Linked DNA regions of Homo sapiens: region 1 is linked to region 2. The links are contacts of gene promoters, found by promoter capture Hi-C in blood cells and fetal thymus (Javierre and others, 2016). All regions are on one chromosome and are shown on one strand. The core of a region is centred on a gene start or on the middle of the fragment in contact, and the rest is flanking DNA. Distances in the headings are between cores, read along the strand shown.

Region 1 (7,283 bases), core at 4,599-7,098, 310 kb after region 2:
TCCCTATTTGGTAATTCTGTGATTTAATAGAGAAGAGAGAAGTATCATTGTTAATTATTGTTACCCATTGAAGGAGCTGAGTCACACTCCCATACTCCACATTAAACACAAAACATTTTGGACAAGGACTTTATATTATCTGATAAGCCCAATTACTCTTTTTGTTTTGGTTTGGTTTTGAGATAGAGTCTTGCTCTTTTCCCTGAAGCTGGAGTGCAATGGCATGATCTTGGCTCTCTGCAACCTCTGCATCCCAGGTTCAAGCAATTCTCGGGCCTCAGCCTCCTGAGTAACTGGGATTACAGGCGCCCGCCACCATGCCCAGCTAATTTTTGTATTTTTAGTAGAGACGGGGTTTCACCATGTTGGCCAGGATGGTCTTGAACTCCAGACCTCAGGTGATCTGCCTGCCTCAGCCTCCCAAAGTGCTGGGATTGCAGGCATGAGCCACCGCACCTAGCCAAGCCCAATTACTCTTTTGCAGGGATACACAAGTATAAAAGTAATTTTAATAAACATTACTCTGAAACTGTTTCTCCACTTCGATTCCTTAGGTCTTTATGAACTTTACTCTACCCAAACATAGCTTTCAAAGATTGCAGGTGTGTCCTAAGAACTGCAAGGGCCCTGAGTTTATCTAAATAAAATATTAGAATCACAATGCAATTTTAATTTTCAGTTTAAAAGAACCAACTCCAGAGTGAATTGTTAATAAGGTATAACAATGTTTTTTAACAATTAACCTTCCCAAATCAATTGCTTACAAATACAGTGTTTTTTTGTTGTTTGTTTGTTTGTTTGTTTTTCTTGAGAGGGAGTCTTACTCTACTCTGTCACCCAGGCTGGAGTGCAGTGGTGCGATCTCGGCTCACTGCAACCTCCACCCTCCGTGTTCAAGTGATTCTCCTGCCTCAGCCTCCTTAGTAGCAGGGATTATGGATGCCTGCCGCTGTGCCCGGCTAATTTTTGTATTTTTAGTAGAGATGGGGTTTCACCATGTTGGCCAGGCTGGTCTTGAACTCCTGACCTTGTGATCCACCCTCCTTGGCCTCCCAAAGTGCTGGGATTACAGGTGTGAGCCACCGCCCCCAGCCTACAAATATAGCTGTTTTTTTGTTTTTGTTTTTGTTTTTTTTGAGACAGAGTCTCGCTCTATCACCCAGGCTGGAGTGCAGTGGCGCGATCTCGGCTTACTGCAACCTCCATCTCCCGGGTTCACACCATTCTCCTGCCTCAGCCTCCCTAGTAGCTGGGACTACAGGCGCCCACCACCGTGCCCAGCTAATTGTTTGTATTTCTAGTAGAGAAGGGGTTTCACCGTGTTAGCCAGGATGGTCTCAATCTCCTGACCTCATGATCCACCCTCCTCAGCCTCCCAAAGTGCTGGGATTACAGGTGTGAGCCACCACGCCAGGCACAAATATAGTTTTTAATTTACTGTCAATCTGAGAAAAAGGCTGGGACAAGATAATCCTCCTCAAATAAAATAGCCACTGGCCTCATCAAATTCTGTGTTGTGGGCCTTGCATCAGTCTTCAAATGTAACTTCTTTTTCTTTTTTCTTTTTTTTTTTAAGATGGAGTTTTGCTCTTGTTGCCCAGGCTGGAGTGCAACGGCACTATCTTGGCTCACCACAACCTCCACCTCCCGGATTCAAGTGATTCTCCTGCCTCAGCCTCCTGAGTAGCTGGGATTACAGGCGTGTGCCACCACGCCTGGCTAATTTTGTATTTTTGGTAGAGACGGGATTTCTCCATGTTGGTCAGGCTGGTCTTGAACTCCTGACCTCAGGTGATCCACCCACCTTGGCCTCCCAAAGTGCTGGGATTACAGGCGTGAGCCACCGCGCCTGGCCCAAATGTAACTTCTAAACATCCAAGCTTCTATAGGTTCATTAATGACCAGTCTTATGAACCTTGTACTGAACTAGAAGCAAAAAAAGGATTTCCATTATACTGTTACAAATGGCTGTAAATATGGAGGACCCATTATGTGGCAAGTATTATGCTGTGGCTCTACATATGTGGTCTTTGCTCTCACCATATTCCTACAGAGTGAGTATTACTCCAGTTTTCCAGATGAGGAAACCAAAGTGTCTAGAGGTTCAATAATTTGCTTACATACCAAATAATGGAGCATATTTTAAACGAAGGCTGTAATGTATATGTTCTCCTTCTTGTTAAAGAAGGTCCCCATCCTGCTGAAGAAGAAAACCTGAAACTTCTTTTACTACCTTTATCTGCCAGGAAGATGGAAGGCTAAAGAGCACTTTCTCTTGCTTAGATTTTGATCATCACTGATTTCCTCCCTGGAGTAGAAGAGTCGTTATACTCTGAAATTTGTATATGCACGATGTGGATATAGGGAGTATAAAATATATCTACTGTGTAAAGGACATGGGTGCCTTGTTTTTTGTGCTTAGGATGACATTTGATTAAACAGGTGAAATGCAACCATTTTCATATATGAAACAGCATCCCCCTTTAAGAAAACAGCCTTCTCTGAAGCTTCTCTTACAGCTCTCCTTGGATTAGTTTTATTCTGACTTGACAGGAGCTACTAGCTACACACTCAGTGGGTAGGGATGAGAGCCCCAGACCCCAGTCCTGAGTACTAGAGTATGCTGAGGATTATACAGTCTCCTTGAGGTGGGAGTGAACTGAGAACTCTACAGAAGAAAATAGCTTTTCCTTCTGGCTAATAGATGAAAAGAGTCACCCCATCACATCAAAGGTACCCATGTTCATCTGCCTACAGTGAGGCTGTGGCCATCCATCTGCAATGTCACCAACTTGGCAGCCCAGCCAGCCACATCTGGAAAAGTTAAGTGAGCTGCAGAATTAACACATGTTGGGGAATGTCCTCAGCACAGTGTATTGACAACAGGCTAACACAATTTCTCCCTCTATTTGCATCAAACCTAATAAGTTACTTAAAAGTTAAAGATTCAAGAGTTAGACAAGTTATTGAAGAGACTCTGTATGTACTATAGCCAACAGCGATTCTTTGAAAAGTAAGACATGGCAGGCCCAGAAGGATTAATGAAATCCACAGAAAGGGTGACCAGTTCATGGGAAGCCAGGAAGGGATCTATGAAAAACAGGTGTGTGCACTCCAAGAGGACAGAGGCTTTAGGTATCCCTCTTGGTCTGCACCTAACACACCGCACAACTCTCCATCTATCTTATCATAGTTTGAAATCCTTCTAGAGAACTGGGCATGTGCACTCTCTGAATGACAGCACATGTACCCTAAAAAGTTATCACAGCTCCTCTCATCACCCTGCATGGTTTCAGTTTTCTATGTCTAAATTCCCAGCAAACCCCTCAAATCAGGATCCATGCTTTAAGGCTTTATATATGTATTTGTTTTTGTAGATTTGACAGTCTTGAGCATGGTGCCTCATGGAAGACACCATGTAGCAAGCTCCTCTTGTTCTAATTTGGTATCAGATATGACAGGCCGGCACAAGGGCAATGGAAGTGGAAAGTTAATCCGGCAGTAGCTCTAATCTTGCTCTTCTATAAGCTCCTCAGCTAAGGGAAGGATTCTCTTTCATTCTAAAGCCTTCTTAAATGTTGTTCTTTCTGTTCATCCATCCATAGGCACTTTCTATTGATTTAAAAAGATAAGTTTTCTCCATGGAGCCCAATAGTTCACAGCACCCACTTCCTGATATGTCCTCTTGGGGAATTTTGGAAAAGAAAAGGAAGTTTATGGCTGGTGAAGGGGTGTGCAAAAGAAATTCCTTTGCCTCTCTAAAAAGTCTTCTGACTGCAGGGGCAGCTCCACGGTGCATTTAGCTCTCAGGTTCCTCTTCGATCCTTGCTCAATCTCTGATTTCCCCGTGCTCTTTCCCACTGCTCTGTGTTTCTTTTCAGGAAAGAGTCATTTGGAGAACCTTTGCCATGGTCTACTTCACCCTCCACAGGGAATTGGTAAGGCAAGGAACTTTGGCAGAGGTAAGAGTTCAATTTAGGGATTGGCTATTTACTCCAATTCAAGAAAGAGAGGCATGGTAAAAAAACAAAACAAAATAAAACAAAAACCAGTAAGACAAGACTTTCCCTTTTTCACACATGGACTGAGAGAAGATTCTTTCTAGGAAAGCTCAATTTGATCAACTTTCTTTTTCTAAGGAATTGTGGTTGAATTTAGCTACCTAATGGGAGGAATGACTGAACAAAGGCTAAGTGAGGCCCATGTGAGTGGTTAAGTGGCAGAAGTAGAATTCAACTCTAGATCTCCTAATCCAGTTCCCCAGTAGTTTTGCATTGTTTGGCGTGGCCAATGGGCTGTGTGTATGTTTCCCTAGGGCCATACTGTGGGAGCTGAAATAGATGAGCTCGGCCGGGAGTGGTGGCTCATGCCTGTAATCCTAGCACTTTGGGAGACCGAGGCGGGCGGATCACCTGAGGTCAGGAGTTCAAGACCAGCCTGGCCAACATGGTGAAACCCCGTCTCTACTAAAAATACAAAAAATTAGTCGGGCATGGTGGTGTGCACCTGTAATCTCAGCTGCTCGGGAGGCTGAGACAGGAGAATCACTTGAACCCAGGAGGCCGAGGTTGCAGTGAGCCGAGATTGCGCCACTGCACTCCAGCCTGGGTGACAGAGCAAGGGAGAGTCTGTCTCAAAAAAAAAAAAAGCTGAGCTCATGGAGGTCTGAGTAGCTCTCCTTTGTATACCTACATTTAATCTAAGGACGTGATTTTATTTGAAGAAAGAGTTTCATAGTGAAAGAAAGATTGCCTTGTCTATGCCGTGTGACCTCCAATTTTAGGAAGATTCTACTAAGATAAACTCTGGAAGCCATTCTCAGGTAGGTCTGTGTGCACTCATATCTTTACTAGTATCACTTGTATCAGACTTGGTCTGGTCCTTTTTGTCCAAAAAGCCATATTGGAATAAAAAGCATTTACCTTTGGGCCATTGATTCACATACATGTGAATCAATGTCCCCCTGAATGACTGAAGATGTTCTAATTTGTCATTTTGCCATTTCTGACAATCACTGCTGAGATTTTAATATTTATTCTCTGTAAGAATGGCAGTATGGTTCTGAGTGTGGGCTTTGGTCAGAAACCCTGGGTTTGCAGCTGGCTCTACCACTTACTATGTCACCTTAGGCAACTTAAAAAACAAATCAAAACAACAAAACAGAATAATATTTTGTAAAAAACGCTTTCTGTCATATAGGGCTGAAGATGAAGTGAGCTAATATATTTAAAGCACAGAGCAAGTGCTCCATATGTATTTGCTGTTATTACTATTGTTGTTGTCATTATTATTTGAGGGACCCATGCAGAGGCCCTGCATAATGTCTGGCATCAAGTTCTGAAATGGGCTCAGCCTCATCATCCAAAAGCTCTAAATTCTTGGCTTGGGCCAGTAAGTTGTTGCTGTCATAGGTAATGATGTTTAGAACAGAGTTGTACCCACAATAGCGTAAGCCTGGTGGACTCAGTATATGAGTAATTCACCTCTGGAAAGGAGTAAGCTGGCAACCAGCTCCCACTTCCCCAAAGTGGTGGTGGAGCTAACAATGGCAGCCAGAAGCACTGTTCTCTCACCAGCAGGCAAGTGCAGTCTTTCGATCTGCTGTAGTTGGCTCAGCTAAAACTCACACTTCCAATTTTCACACTATCTGTAAACGTTTAATTCGAAAGGCTTTCCTATTTAATATCAAACAAGTGAAAAAAATCTCATCAGCTCATCAGTGCTGTGCCAGACTTTCATTGGGATATGGAGGCAACTGGAACTCAGCTGTGCAGAGACCTCAGTAGGATTTCTCAAATGGCTGAGTGGAGAGCAATCCATCAGCTTACTGAAATCTCACATGCCATTTGGTTTAAATATTAAGGTTCCTTTGAGGTTAAGTATTAGAACCAGAAGGAAGGCAGGATTACAATCCGTTAGGCTGGGCTCCACATGCTGCAATTGTCACAAATATACCTCTTTTCAGCAAGAGGGGTCACTGCCAGCCCCAAATCACCCCAACTTCCTTTACCAATCAGGCCTGGACTTCCACATCCCCATCAACCTGTCCCTGAGGCTGCTCAACCCACAGTCCAGACTGACAGACAGTCCAATAGAAATATAATGTGAGCCACCAATGGGAGGCACATGTCATTCTAAATTTTCTAGTAGCCACAGTGCAAAAAAGTAAAAAGAAACAGGTGAAATAAATTTTAATAATATATTTTATTTAATCCAACATATCCAAAATAGCTCCATTTTATATTATCAATATAAAAATTAAAAATGAGATATTTCACTTTTTTTGTGCTAAGTCTTTGCAATCTGGTGTGTGTTTTATATACACACACACCTCTGTTGGGGCTAGCCACCTTTCCAGTGTTTAATAGCTACTGTATTGGACAGAGCAGGGCTAGGCTATAGACTAGATTAATTCCACACATTGCACTACATCTTGAAGCAGCAGGCCAGTGGTGAAAACACCCAGCTGAGTCTGAGGAAGGGTCTTGAGAGGCTGAGAAGAATTGAGAGGACCCTGTGAAACAGAATCTGTCACCACAGCTCCTTTTGAAGTGCATTTGGGTTTGCAATAACTTTTATAAACATCATTGCTCCTCTCCCCTTTGTTTCACAGTTTGGGGACCCTATTTATCTCTGACGGACAAGAGTATTATTTTCTCAGCTGCAAATCATGTTAATTGGCCAGTAGATAGATAGGAATGTGGAGTAAACACCCCTAATACCTTTGATGACTTTTCCAGCCCCATACTGTAGATACTGTATTGAAGTGGGAGAATAGCCCCCTATTCCTGCTTAGGATGACAAGCCCCTGTCTACTGCAAGGAGGTGGTGGGGTCATGAATGCATTCTAATGTGAATGCATTTCACAATTTGGAGAATCCCTTGTTCTTTGCTTTTATTTGACACTCAGATAACTTGGATGATTTGGCCAGAGTAACTGTGAAAATGCAAGTTATCAGGAGTCTTTGAGACAAGATAAGGATGGAAGGTTGTTGTAGTGCATAGTGGCATTTGGTTAAAGCATTAATTTCTTTTCAGGAGAGTCACTCTGCCAGTTGCCTTTCCTTCCATAACACCGCCAGTCTTTCAGCTCTCAGGTCACTGGGGGCCTGATCAATTCCAAGGGATGATAAAAGGTCTTTCTTTTCCAAAGTGGGAGAAGACGGGTTGTGAAGAAGAAGGAAAGGCGAAGGGGAAAAACGCCAACCTAATCTCTGGCAGACCAATTGTAGGAACAAATATCTATGTGAGTTGAAGATATAGCAATTGGTTTCCATAAAACT
Region 2 (6,353 bases), core at 1,326-3,825:
AGTTGCTCTTATGAACACTGGGACACATCCCATTATTCCTTCACATAGAAAATCTTTATTAAAATTCACCCAGACACCAAAGCCACCCTTGGGCTTAAAATTTCTCTCTGAAATAGAGAACCCAGAAATAGCCACACACAAGTATGGCCAACTGATATTTTGACAAAGGTGCAAAAGGGACTCCATGGAAGAAGGATAAACTTTTCAATAAGTAGTGCTAGAGCAATTGGATAGCCACAAGCAAAAACCTGAACCTAAACCTCACACCTATTAATGGAAAACTTAACTCACAAAAATTACATAGACTTAAATGTAAAAGGCAAAACTAAAACAACCTTTGAAAGAAAACAAGATAAAATCTTTAGGATACAGGATTAGAGAATAGTTCTCAGACATGACAGCAAAAGCACAATCCATAAATTTAAAAAATGAATAAACTGGACTTCATCAAAATTAAAAATATTTGTTCTGTGGCAGATCTTGTCAAGAGAATGAAAATACAAACTACAGATTGAAGAAAATATTTGTGAATCATGCATCTGACAAAAGACACATCTAATATATGAAGAACTCTCAAAATGTACAGGTAAAAAACCAAATAATGCTAATTAGAAAATGGGCAAAAGACATAAGGACATTTAACTGAATGGAATATACAGATGGCAGATAAAAACATGAAAAGATATTCAACATTATTAGCCACCAGGGGAATAAATGTAAAACTGTGATGAGGTATTACTGCACATTTATTATTTACTTTAGCTCAGCTAAAACAAAAATAGCAATAATAGAAAATGCTGGTGAGGATATGGAGAAACTGGATCTCTCATACATTGCTGGAGGAAATGTAAAATGTTACAGTTACTCTGGAAAACAGTTTTTAATTTCTTTAAAAAATGACACATACATGTATCACATGACCTGGCAATTGCACTCCTGGGCATTTATCTCAGAGAAATGAAGATTTTTGTCCACATAAAAACCTGTATTCAATTGTTTGCAGCAGTTTTATTTGTAATGGCCCCAAATGGGAAACAATCAAAATGTTCTGCAATAGGTGAATGGTTAAACAAATTGTGGTACATCCATGTCATGGAATATTACTCAGCAATAAAAAAGGAATGAACTATTGATAAACACAACAACTTGGATGGGTCTCAAGTGCATTATGCCAAGTGAAAGAAGCCAATCTTAGAAGGTCATGTACTGCATGAGTCCATTCATATAACATCTCAAAATGTCAAAATTATAAAAACAGAAACAGAGATCACTAGGGTTAGGAGGGCAGGTGTTACCAAAAAGGTTAGCACTAGGGAGATCTTTGTGAGGGTGGAATAGTTCTGTATCTTGATCATGGTGGTGGTTACACAAAATATGTAGTAGAATGACATAGGACTACACAAATACTTTATATCAATGCCAGTTTCCTGGCTTTGATACTGTACTAGAGTTATACGAGATGTAATCACTGGGGGAAACAGGTACACAAGACATCTGTACTATCTTTGCAACTTCATGTGAATCTATAACTATTTCAAAATGAAAAGTTTGAAAGAAAATTTTCTCTGAGGCATCTCTCCCTTGCCTTCCTTCATCTTGTGCATTTCTTTCCCTGAGTATGACTTTTTCTCTTTCTTTCTCCCTTTCCCTTATGTACTGGGTTTTCCTTTAACGGTCCATAATGCCAAACTATGTCATTCCCCATCCTCCTATTGTTCCTATTTATTTAATGAAGGTTATGTTTTCATGTGCTTAATTTTAAAAGCAGGAAAGTACTAACTCTTTAAACAAATTTCTTAAAAAACAAAACCCAAAACTAACCTGCTTTTTATTTTATATAATTCAGTTAGTCATTATTCTTTAAGGTCGGAAGTCCACAATACAAACATGTTTCCAACACTTGTATTGGAAGATAATTTTTGTTTTATATGCATGGAGCATTAATATCATTCTTCATGTCTATGGATTATGAACACACACACATTCAGGATTTACTGGGGAAACAGTGACATCAAATATTATGTTCTATTGATTCTTCATATAAATCTACATGTCAAAAAATAATCCTTTGCCAGATCACGTATCCAGATTTTTCGTTTGGAAAATACGAACATTACTACTACAGAATATCAAACTGAATACAGCCCTGTCCTGAGGGCTTGCAAAGTGAATCTGGCAATACTTTGGAAAAGTACTACTGCAGGTTCTCAAGGACCCAAAGAGCTCTCCAGCTTTTCCAGTGGGTTCAGCCCCAAATATCCTAATTTCTTCAATAAATTACGAGTTGCAGGTGTTTAAATATGCAAGTATATTTTGGTCTTTTCGTTATCATTGTAAAACACCAGTCCTAACAAGCAGTAAAGATTACACTTTATGGTGGTAATATTTACAGTTAATGCACTTCTGCATTTCTTCCCGCACATTTTTCTTCTTACTTATTTAAACTAAGCGTTTCCCCTCTTTTTTTAAGCCCCAGTATTAAAAAGAAAATAAAATCCCAAAGAATTTCGCAACATTGCGATTGCACTGGCTTGAGAACGAAGGAAGTTAGTCCCTTGCGGTGATCCGTCCTTTCATCCTGGCGTTTGCCTGCAGCAAGATGGCGGCGGTGTCAATGTCAGTGGTACTGAGGCAGACGTTGTGGCGGAGAAGGGCAGTGGCTGTAGCTGCCCTTTCCGTTTCCAGGGTTCCGACCAGGTAATAGAATTTTCACACTTTTCTTCAAGCTTCTTGGGTCCCTCCATTTTTGCGGAGTCTCTGCTGGCTGAGTTCCGGAGGAGGCCTCGGGGAAGGCGTCCTCTGTTGACCCTTTTCTCGGGAGAAGTCGGGCGGACTAGGGACTGTCTGCTATCAATGGGCGTTGGCCAGGCGAGTGAGGGCGTGAGTGCGAGGCCGGGGAGGAGGACCTGTGGTTTTCTGGAAGCTTTCGTATTCGGCTTGTCGCTGAGGGAGAGGGTCCGTGGAGGTTTTGCCTCCGGAGCTGCAAGCTGAACCTTAGCCCTCAGAGAAGGGGAGGAGTCTCACTGATTTCTGTTTCCACTTTCTGCATCCCTTCCATTTGTCACCTGTTTGCCCACCACTCCAGTCCTTACAGAAGGGTTAAATCACTGTATCCCTTCCATGGTTTTAAGTGGTTTTAATTTGGTTTCTGCATAGGAAGATTGTTTATTCATCAGTCTGCTTGGGAGGAAAACTTGTTTGGAATTCAGTGTTAGTAAAAATATCACTGCTAGTAATATTGGAAGGTAATTTTTAAAAGGCTGGTGGTAATGCCTGGAGGTTTTCTAGGGATTTTGTTAAAGCCTCACAATAATTCAGGGATTGAATTGAGTTGTTGAGGGCTCTTTGCGTCCTTGAGAACCTAAAGTAGTACTTTTCCAAAGTATTGTCAGATTCAGTTGTCAGTTGATTGAGTTGTTACTGTTTTTCCTTGAAGCATTTTTGTGATGATTTTTTTTTTTTTGGCTGTATTAACCTTCCATTTTCTATTTTTCAGAATTTCCTGGAGTTTTTTAAATTATAGTACTAATGCTATACGTACATACACACACATATTAGAACAAAGATTGGAAAGACTGGATGGAGAGATTTGAAGGGGGTAGGAGGTGGATGCAAGTGGTTAAAAGTTGAAAGGAAGGTCTAGTAGAATGCTAATTGATTTAGTGTTAAATATAAATGGAATGCAGAGAATTAGGATGAGTTAATTCGGAAGAATTTTTAAGGATGAGTTTTATTAAGGTTTAAATATAGTGGGTGTTGGGTGGGAAAGAAGAGAGTGTCCCGTAGGGTCCGTGGCTTATGAAAAGGCTTGAAAGCATTAGTTAAACGATTACTAAATACATAGAATAGAGTCACTCAAAAGTAAGGGTGCTAAGATTGGGGAAAGGCAAATGATGTTTGTAATTAAGTGTTCCATATATGGAAAGTATTTTTCCTTTTTCTTTCTCTTTTTTTTTTTGAGATACATTCTCACTCTGACGCCCAGGCTGTAGTGCAATGGCGTGATCTTGGTTCACTGCAACCTCCGCCTCCCGGGTTCAAGCAGTTCTCCTGCCGCAGCCTCCTGACTAGCTGGGATTACAGGCGCGCACCACCACACCTGGCTAATTTTTGTATTTTTAGTAGAGGCGGGGTTTCACCATGTTGGTCAGGCTGGGTTAAGTATTTTTCTAAGGTAAAATACTTCACTGGTTAACTTAGAGTTAATATAGCGGTGACCAAGATTAGCCCTTCCTCCCGTACAGATTATAGGGATTAATTGTCATTCCCAGATAATAATGTACTCATGGTAGCCCCAGAACTGAAAACAAGTTTGAAGGGACCACTGGTTTATGGCTAATCAAAACATGGCTGTAATTTTAAGTCAAAGCCATTTTGTCAGCAATTATAGTAATTGAAGTTGAGATTAGATTTTTGAAACTCTGATGATAATTGTTACTACATATCCAAACTTAAGAGTTTTTGCCTGCAAATGTAAGAGATTTGAAAATAAATCATTTAATCTTGAAAAAAAATCTTAATGCCAGGGAAGACGTTTTTTAAATACAAATTAACACATTTATTTGTTTTCTGTGCCACATTTTTACCCTAAGAGCTTGTCATGTTCATCCTAATTTGAGGGAAATTTATAGACCCTCTCCCTTACATATTGTTTGTTCTTCATCCTTAAGCATTCTTTTTCCATTATGATTTGATAGTAATGAGGATCTGAAAAAGGTGAGTAGAAAGAACCAATTAATGGGAAAATCTACATCTAAAATTCATTTTATTGTAATGCTTAGAAAAACATTTGCAAATCATGTAACATTTCAGATCATTTGAATAGAATATGGGAAGTGGAATCAGTAAGGTAAGGAGTGGAGTAGGGAACTGAAGGAAAGGAAGGGCCGGGCGCGGTGGCTCACACCTGTAATCCCAGCACTTTGGGAGGCCGAGGCGGGCAGATCACAAGGTCAGGAGATCGAGACCATCCTGGCCAACACGGTGAAACCCCGTCTCTACTAAAAATACAAAAAATTAGCCAGGCGTGGCAGCGTGCGCCTGTAGTCCCAGCTACTCAGGAGGCTGAGGCAGGAGGATGGCGTGAACCCGGGAGGCAGAGCTTGCAGTGAGTCAAGATCGCGCCACTGCACTCCAGCCTGGGCAACAGAGCCAGACTGTGTCTCAAAAAAACAAAAAAAAAAAAAAAAAAGAAAAGGAAGGATGCTGTTAGCTGCTACATTAACATATTAATTCAATTATAGTATATCATCAGTGAAAAGCAAAACAAAGAATGCAACAACACATACACACAAGAGAGAAAAAATCTAGTAATGTGGGTGATTGAGCTGATCTAGTTACTTACTGAGCTTGTGCTGTAGTGTTGGTCTCAGTTTCCATGTGCTTCTCATTTCCCTGTACCGAATGTGAGGAGGCAAAAAAAGGGGTTAAATTGTCTACATTTTTTTTTTTTTTGGAGATGTAGTTTCGCTCTTGTCACCCATTCTAGAGTGCAGTGGCACAATCTCAGTTCACTGCAACCTCTGCCTCCCGGGTTCAAGCGATTCTCCCGCCCCAGCCTCCAGAGTAGCTGGGATTACAGGTGCCCACCACCTCGCCCAGCTAATTTTTTTATTTTTAGTAGAGATGGAGTTTCACCGTGTTAGCCAGGCTGGTCTCAAACTCCTACCCACAGGTGATCCACCCGCCCCGGCCTCCCAAAGTGCTGGGATGACAGGCGGGAGCCACCGCGCCCATCCCTAAGTTGTCTACATTTATCCTTACTTTCCCTGACTTTCCTAAGAGATTTTCCAGGGTAAATTTAACTATTCTAAATGCATTTATCAGCCAGATGAAATGGCACTCTATTTCAAAATAGCTATACTTAAGATATTTGATGCAGTGATGTTTTTATTCACTTATTTAAGTGTGTTCATGTATACTTATCTCACCTTAGTATTTACTAGGTCTTGTGTTTTCCTCAAACAAGTCCTTAGGGTGTTAAATCACCCAGAGGGTTTTAATTAATGACTGGTGGGGACTGAGTGTTTGGGACCTGTTTGTGAGGTCTCTTTTATGCCCTGATCTGTGGCTTTATTCTGTTGCTGTGTTTGGTTCTTCAGCATTATATAAGCTAGCATGAAATTGAGTCTTCAATTCGATGGGGAATTGAATTTGAACCCTCCAAATAGTAAGCAGTCCTTAAGGTTGACAAGAATTCTGTTTGTTAACACCTTGCTGGGAAATAGGCTAAGCTCAAATTTAGGACACTTAAGACCAATAGGTTCACTTCTACTTCAGATAAACTAAATAAATTCCTCTCCTAGGGGCAGCTATTTTTGCTATCTTTGTAACACATCCAAGCCAAAGTTTGA

What was found. The method cuts DNA at HindIII sites, captures the fragments that hold promoters and counts their contacts. A CHiCAGO score of 5 or more calls a contact.
Region 1: a fragment that was not itself captured here is called in contact with the fragment with the promoter of NDUFS4 in region 2 in 1 of 17 cell types (endothelial precursors); the score reaches 5.2 in endothelial precursors.

The regions. Positions count from the first base shown.
Region 1 is chr5:53,863,565-53,870,847 of GRCh38, forward strand. No RefSeq gene overlaps it. Among named protein-coding and RNA genes, the nearest start is that of LINC02105, 48 kb to the left of the region's middle. The HindIII fragment of the contact is 6,686 bases long and covers 2,506-7,283 here.
Region 2 is chr5:53,558,064-53,564,416 of GRCh38, forward strand. It overlaps NDUFS4 (NADH:ubiquinone oxidoreductase subunit S4), which reads left to right and starts at 2,576. Exons shown (of 5, transcript NM_002495.4): 1 at 2,576-2,697. The coding sequence starts at 2,600. RefSeq lists an enhancer at 2,478-2,977. The HindIII fragment of the contact is 3,063 bases long and covers 1-2,724 here.